Regions from separate parts of the Homo sapiens genome. Here region 2 is linked to region 1. Evidence: promoter capture Hi-C in human tissues and cell types (Jung and others, 2019). All regions are on one chromosome and are shown on one strand. Each heading gives the region's core, a stretch centred on a gene start or on the middle of the fragment in contact. The rest is flanking DNA. Distances are from core to core; before and after follow the strand shown.

What was found. Contacts are between HindIII fragments. The study calls those that stand out against the background at their distance.
Region 2: a fragment that was not itself captured here is called in contact with the fragment with the promoter of CMSS1 in region 1 in 1 of the 25 tissues and cell types used here (heart left ventricle).

What each region holds. Positions count from the first base shown.
Region 1 is chr3:99,815,668-99,819,484 of GRCh38, forward strand. It overlaps CMSS1 (cms1 ribosomal small subunit homolog), which reads left to right and starts at 2,195. Exons shown (of 10, transcript NM_032359.4): 1 at 2,195-2,376. The coding sequence starts at 2,313. It overlaps HP09053 (a long non-coding RNA gene), which reads right to left. Exons shown (of 3, transcript NR_110821.1): 2 at 3,253-3,307; 3 at 965-2,805. It overlaps LOC105374010 (a long non-coding RNA gene), which reads left to right and starts at 2,195. Exons shown (of 5, transcript NR_189163.1): 1 at 2,195-2,376. RefSeq lists a silencer at 1,876-2,630 and enhancers at 2,046-2,920, 2,152-2,461. The HindIII fragment of the contact is 4,697 bases long and covers 1-3,723 here.
Region 2 is chr3:98,809,126-98,812,942 of GRCh38, forward strand. DCBLD2 (discoidin, CUB and LCCL domain containing 2) reads right to left here. Exons shown (of 16, transcript NM_080927.4): 10 at 3,207-3,357; 11 at 2,343-2,429; 12 at 2,069-2,194. Among named protein-coding and RNA genes, the nearest start is that of ST3GAL6, 48 kb to the left of the region's middle. The HindIII fragment of the contact is 5,631 bases long and covers 1-3,817 here.

The DNA of each region.
Region 1 (3,817 bases), core at 945-3,444:
AACCAGGATGCCTATTCACTAATAACCAATTCACTAATAACAGAACAAACAGAACAGAAATGGATGCTACAACTTAGGTTGGCTATTCAATATAATCTGGGGTCAGTAAACTTTTTTCTGTAAAGTTAGAGCAAATATATGAGGGAATAGTAATAAATAGTAAATATATGAGGGCTACAGTCTCTGCTGCATATTTTTCTTTACGTTTTTGTTGTTGTCGTTGTTGTTTTGTTCTGTTTCTTACAATGCTTTAAAAATGTAAAAAATGGCTGGACACAGTGGCTTAGGCCTCTAATACCAACACTTTGGCAGGCTGGAGTGGGAGGACTGCTTGAAGCCAGGTGTTAAAGACCAGCCTGGGCAGCAAAATGAGACGCCATATCTACAAAAAACAAAAACAACAACAAAATAACCAAGAATGGTGGCATGTGCCTGTAGTCCCAGCTACTCGGGAGGCTGAGGCGAGGTGGAATATAATGTAAGACCATTCATAGTTCATGGTACAAAACAGGTATCAATTCCCATTAATGCATAGACACTCCATAATTTAGTATTGCCAGACTTCTTTTTTTTTTTTTTTTTTTTTTTTTTGAGACCGAGTTTCGCTTTTGTCAACCAGGCTGGAGTGTAATGGCACCATCTCGGCTCACCGCAACCTCCACTTCCCGGGTTTAAGCAATTCGCCTACCTCAGACTCTCAAGTAGCTGGAATTACAGGCGCCTGCCACCATGCCCGGCTAATTTTTGTATTTTTAGTAGAGATGGGTTTCGCCATTTTGGCCAGGCTGGTCTGGAATTCTTGACCTCAGGTGATTCACCCACCTCGGCCTCCCAAAGCGTTGGGATTACAGGCTTGAGCCACCGCGCCCGGCCCATACTTCTTAATTTTGTGATTTATTGCCTGAAAAACGGTCTCGCTGTGGTGTTTTTTTTGTATTTCCCAGATTAATAATCAGACTGAATTCTTTTCATGTTTATTAGCCATAGCAACTCCTCTTCCACACTGGCATTTCTTATCTTTTTCAAAAATCTATTAATCACGAAAATCTCGTCATCTACATTTCTTCACAAAAGCCATATTACTTTTGATCTTTATAGATTATTTTACATTTGCCATATTTATACATAATATCTTCCCTTTTGGGGCATTTAGAGTGTGCGGACAAAGTCTAGGCAGTAATGCATTTATAAAACATCTATGAGTTGGGTGCACACGGGGTAATTTTCCACATATGGCTAATCCTAGCCTCATCAGATTAAGTTTCCCTGTCTTGTCATTTCCGAGGATGTATCCTATTAGAAGTCTAGCCCTTTATTCCTACAAATTGAATTTCCACTACTGTAGGCTAACATCTGAATGGACTCATCTTACTATTCCATGCATAGTACCAGGCACGTTGCGTGCTTTTACTACATTTTGTATAATTTTTACGTCTGTGTTTGATGTCCTGAAAAATACCGTCCACAATTACTTCACAGCTAGCCCCAGCACTTGGCGCCCAGCGGGTTTTCCTAGTCCCTCCCTGCCAAATCACGTTGGGACTGAGACAAGAGGCACTGCGGGTCTCTTACCTATAGTTACGAAGCAATGGACTCCCTTATTACTTCGTTTCCCAAATAGGGGGTGGGACACACAACCGAGGGAGTATGAGGAAAACAACTTGCGGGTCTTCGAGCCACTTGCGTCTTTCTGTGGGCGAGCCTTTCCAGGCCAATTACATTTTCTTTACTCATATTGCATAAATAGCAGAACTACATTTACCACAAAGGCCCGACATTCATGGTCATGGATCCTTGCGCATGTTTTCTAAGAGCAAACTGTACAAACACATAAACTCTGAAACACTGACGCACAAGCGAAAACACACGCACATGTTTGGGTCTTCTCCCGCTGCGCAAGTTCTTTGAAACTGAGCGGAGAAAAATCGTCTTCACATGGTGTCTCACACTTTCGACACAATCTTATCGGGAAACGTAACACGTAAACAAAATTTTTTAAAATGCATTATCAAAAACGATGACAATCCCTTTCGTCTTATGTTCCTTTTTGTCTTTAAGCTTTGGGGGGATTTATGTTGCGTTTCCAAACTGCTTCTGCCTGTCGGCGCCTGTGTGGAAACTGCGACGAGTCTGGGAGCGGCTGCCGGAGAGGCGGGGCAGAGGTGTGACGTCATCGCCGCGGGGCGGAGGCGACAGTGTCTAGCGGGAGCTCCGCGTGTAGCTACGCCGGCCGCCTGGCTTTGAGACAACGTGATTCTCCGCAGCTGGTCGCCTACCCGTGATGTTCTGCCCACGTCGAGACCTGAGCTGAAATGGCAGACGATCTCGGAGACGAGTGGTGGGAGAACCAGCCGACTGGAGCAGGCAGCAGCCCAGGTACCCACTCTGTGCCCGCGCTCCTACGGGGCCTCTCCCGGAGCCCTTCCGTGCGCCTCAGCCCTGGTCGCTTCTGGCGATCGCGGTGTTTGCCCAGCAGGGGTGTGCACCGCCTTGGGAGCGCGCAAGCATCTCGGGGAAAATGGTGCAAGAGATTCTTTAACACGTGAAACAGACAGCTGTGACATTAACTCAGATCTGTCTGCCAGCCAGGAAGGATCCTTTCCACAAGCTTTCTCTTTTCCTTATTTCTTGAGAATGGATAAGACAGTTTTTGTGAAGAGAGGCAACTTTGTATGATGGTTAAGGGTGACCCATGAACTGCTTTCAATTCAGACTGAGGTCAGAAGCAGGGGTTGCTGCTTCAGACTCCCTCCATTCAAATCACGACTCCAGTATTCTGATACTGTTTAGCCTCCTTTTCCTCATCTGTAAAATAATGATAACAATAATGTCCATTTCGTAAAGTTGTGAAGATTAAGTGAAGTTAGTACAGTAATGCACTTTAGCATAGTGCTTGACATATAATGTGTGGTAAATATAAGTTACTGTATTTCTTGTGGTCATCATCATTATCATGGAATTTGGAATAGTAGAACTGGAAGGAGGCTTAAATAGAGATCATCCTTTGAACTCACTTATTTTACAGATGAGAAACATAACCTAAAGATGTCAAGTAACTTGACAAGTTCACAAAGCTAGCTCCTTTCAGAAACAATACTAGAATTCAGTTAACACAATTTGAATAGTTTCTACTATGCTCTGCTGTGTTTACCAACTCCTGATGCAGTGGGCATTTCATCCCCAAGTAGAGTAGCGTTAAGTGACCCCCCATGTCAGGCTAGCCTTGAACTTTTTAAGTTCCATCACACCTACCATGCAATTATTGGTTGGTTGGTTTTTATCACTCCTCAAGGTCTGCCTCTTTTCTCTACAAGAGAAGACAGGGCCAAAGTCAGATTCATACTTCTGTCATCCACAGGGCCCTGCACATGTTAGACACTTGATACCTATTTGCTGCAAACAATCTTGAAATACTAGTTGTGAAATATCCATTAAAAATAACCAACTTCATTTGTTGCATTGTTTCCGGAAGGTCAAGCCTTCAGGTACAAACTAAGCAGATGTCATTTTTAGAAAGGTAGCCAATACAACATTTCCTTGATTAAACTTCCTGACTCTTTTGCAGCCCTGTGGTGTTCCACATTTACTTTAATAACTACCCCTCCCAACTCAGGTGTTAAAAAGCTCTATTTTATGATATGATTGAAGATGAACAGAGGCCATTTAAGAAATAGTTGAATTCTGTTTGAGTGGTGAAGGGGATCCCAATTCTTGGTTCTAGTCCTCACTAGCTGTGTGACTTTCAAGTTATTCATCCGTTGGAAGAAAGGCAGTCAACATGTATTGAGTATCTATTATGTGACAAATGTCTTCATAA
Region 2 (3,817 bases), core at 789-3,288, 1.0 Mb before region 1:
TTAGGGATCATTTAATCCCCTAATTTCACTCCAGAGATAAGGAATTCTGGGCCCAGATATAGAAAATGATCTGCCTAAGGTCACTTGGGATATTAGTTTCTTCCTTTGTCGCTCAACCCCCTACTTGCCATGAAGATGATAATAGCAGCACCTGCTGATATTTACTGGGGGCTCAGAGCCGGACACTGCAATGAGTCTAACCTGCACCATCTTCTTTATTCCTTAAAACAACTGTATCCAAAAGAGAGAAAGAGGCTGAAGATACAGGAGGGGGAGAGGATAATCAGTAAGATTGGGTCCCTGAGAGGTAGATCGAGGGGAACCAGGGCACAGGTGATATAATCAGCCTTGGGCAACATAAGGAAGCCCCCTTTTCACTGCAGTGAACAGAGGATACAGATAGGTTTGTAGGCTCCACAAAAAGGGAGTTTCACTGGAAGGAAACTCCCTACTTTCTCTGTGAAGTTGGAGCGGTAACTGAGAGTGGGTGAAGATATCTGGGTGAAGGGCTTGAAAATAAGGGGAATATGTAAAATAGCTACAGTTGAGAACAGACAGAAGAGCTACTGCAGCCTTTCAGAAGGTCAGCCAGCTGGTGCCACGGGCCCCACTGAGGGAGGACCTGGAAACTACAGAGGCACAAATCTGACCATGACATAATCTTTTCCATGAAATCACTCTCAGCCTGGCTGTAAAAATGGAGAAGTCCATAAACAGAAATAATGACTTAGACTAGAAAGCACTCAGAATTCACAACGGTAAATGTGCTTTTTCCATAAGATTAGTGAGACAAGAGAAGATAATCAAGTTTAGATGGATGCTGTGTGATTTAATCAGAGGCTTTAAAACATCTTCTTAGGTTCAAAAAATAAATTTATATACTACCATCCCCCTAAAAAAGAGACAGGAGGTCTCTGAGAAGACCAACTCATTCTTTGTTATTCTTTTTGGGCATACAGGGATCCTAATTCTGGAAGGAAATTATTTAAGGACTCTTTTTAGCCTTGAGGGTCTGAGATGCAATCAGATTTTAAGATGAGCAACACTTTTCAGTGACTGATCTCCATCCAGGCATGTGGTCTGGGATTCTGCCTTAGTACATGCCTTCTGACAACTGGTAAGCAGTTAAAAGATGCTGAGATCTCCTGCCTCTGAGAACCCTTGATTCTCTCTAGCTGTACCTGCAGCATGAGAAAGTAATTCATCTTTGTGAAAATACTTCAGAAGATGGGAAAGAACCAACATGGGGAAAGTCAGAGAAAGTTATCTGAATCCAGGCAAACTTTCAAAAAATGAGAATGACTGAAGTTCTATGTGGCACAAATTACTTTGGATGAACGGCTTTCTCTCTCTGCACTTTCCTGAAAACAAGGAAGCTTTTTATGTGACAACTCTGATACTTAGTCTACTATGACACTGACACTTTTTTGAATTCAATTGAAATTTTGTTTTTCAACAACTAGTAAGACTACTATGTTTTATGTATTTTGAGACCTTATTTATCACTGATAACAAAACTTGAAAGTAAATTCTAATAAATTTCTATTTATGATCTTAAAAAATATAATTGCAAACACTTAAAAAGAGACCAAAGTTTTTTTTTATGAATATGTTAACTATGAGTATTTTTTAACAATTACTAGTTTCTACTAAAAGTTCTGTTTTTATTTTCCCCTTTTTGCCATCAAGTTCCCTATCCATCAAATTAATATATTATCAAGGGAAACAAGTTTGTTTCCTGCTATGATTTCAGTTATTTCTAGAAAATATTGTATTTCTAAGCCTGAGAGTCAACATGTTTAGCTGTAAGGAACAATAAATCACAAGAGGAGGCCTGCAACACAGTGGCCTTCTCTAAATATTTAAAGAGCAATTCTACATGGCAGCAGAGACTACAACTTAGATCAATGCAGTCTTTTCCTATGAAAGAAAATAAATTTTTTTTTTTGCTATACTTAAAAACTATAGTTGGAAGAAAATAAACTGAAGGTTTAAAAATGCCCGTGAAAACTTCAGTTAAGAACAAAACAATACTATGTACTAGGCGTTCATTTCCATGTTTGCATACCTTTGGTTACATTTGGAGTTACGGTAGTATTTCTGATATCAGGACTGGCAGTTGTTTGTTCTGTCTGTGCAGGAAATTCATTGCTACTGCGAGGTTGTAGTGGTTGCGTAAATTTTGGGGCACGACCTTTAAAAAAGTTTCAAAAGCTCTTTACTTTTTAATCTGTACCAACTTGATTAACATAAACTTATTTGATAATGCTTTTAATATATTTTTGGAAAGTTGCACCATAAATCCAAGGAATATCAAATTCTCACATTAAAAACAGGCATACCTTTGGCTATTTTTGGAGGGGCTGTAGTGTTTTTGAGGTCATTGCTGTTCCGAGGAGGTGGAGGTTGAGTAAGTTTTGGAGGACGACCTTGAAAAATGGTTTAGAAAAATTTAAACATTTTGTTTTTAAAAATCATAATTAAAAATAGTAATGCTAAATGTCTTCAATATTTCCTAAAGTATTTAATTCTGCAGAATAATTTTAACTCTCAGAGAGAAATATATTGGAAGGATAAATATTATACTCTGCAATAAAGGCACAAATATGCCAGGATTTCTCAGTTTTTAAATAATTAAATCATCTGAAAATAATCTTAGGAAGAAGAATAATGGGGTGGAAAGTGATGTTGAATGCTAAAGCTATAAAGGAGTCATCCACATTTTGATACAGTACTTATTCAATTCATTTAATAGTTATTTATGGAGGGCCAACGATGTGTCAGGCACTGTGGTAGCCTTTGGGCGTACAAAAGTAAACAGTATATTAAAATGTATAATATTGAGATAAATTATTCTTGCTTTAAATGTATTGTTACAATCTTTCATGCTTATGTTAAACAAATATTACAGTACATGACACCTGATTTAAAATTATTAGGATTGAGATTAAATTTGGAAAGTGATCTCATTTACATTATCTTATGAATGATGCTATTTCTTCTTCCACTTATAATTTTGGAAACCATTCTTATAACTAACTTTTTAATAGGGTAACCATTTTTTTTAACATCCCTTTAAGAAGATATTGTAATTAGAGTTTAACCAGAAAGACACTCACATTATTAATTACTCTCTCTGAGAACAGCAAAACCATTTTAAATTGGCAATCCAGTAAAAACATATCTTAAACGAACTGTCTCTTTACCTTTAGGAATAAACTGACATCCGAGCAGCTCCATTTTCATGGCAATTTTCTGCTGCCATTGGGTAGGATTCACTCTAATAAAACGTGCAATAATTGGTGGCAAAAAGTTATTACGCACATCCTGGTGATAATCTTTGTTTCCTTGAAATATCTTTAAAAAAACAACAAAAAATTGGTACTTCAAATCAATAGAGGTCAGGGCTAAATTTCTCCACTTAAACATGTTTTTGTTCTTTGCTCTAGGCCTTAAATTACATCTGGAAAGTATGATAATAAGGATCAATTTTTAAGAAAATAATCATAATTTGGAAAAATATTAAGATGCTGCACATTTTTATCAAAAGTTTATGAAACAAAAATATTTAATATAGAAATGATTTTAAGATGATTTAAGAACTTAACAAGAGGGCTAACTTGGCATTTGGGTAAAAGGTTTCAAATCCAGTGAGACAATTTATCCTATTAGTAAATCAGTAACTCTAGTCCTGTGGAATTACCAACTATTTAAATATATTAATTTTTATTTTTAAAGTAAAACAAAATTGATCATGCCAAGTCTTAGGGGAAATATTTTGCTTGTGTACTTTTCATAATTTTTCTCTCAACAGGCT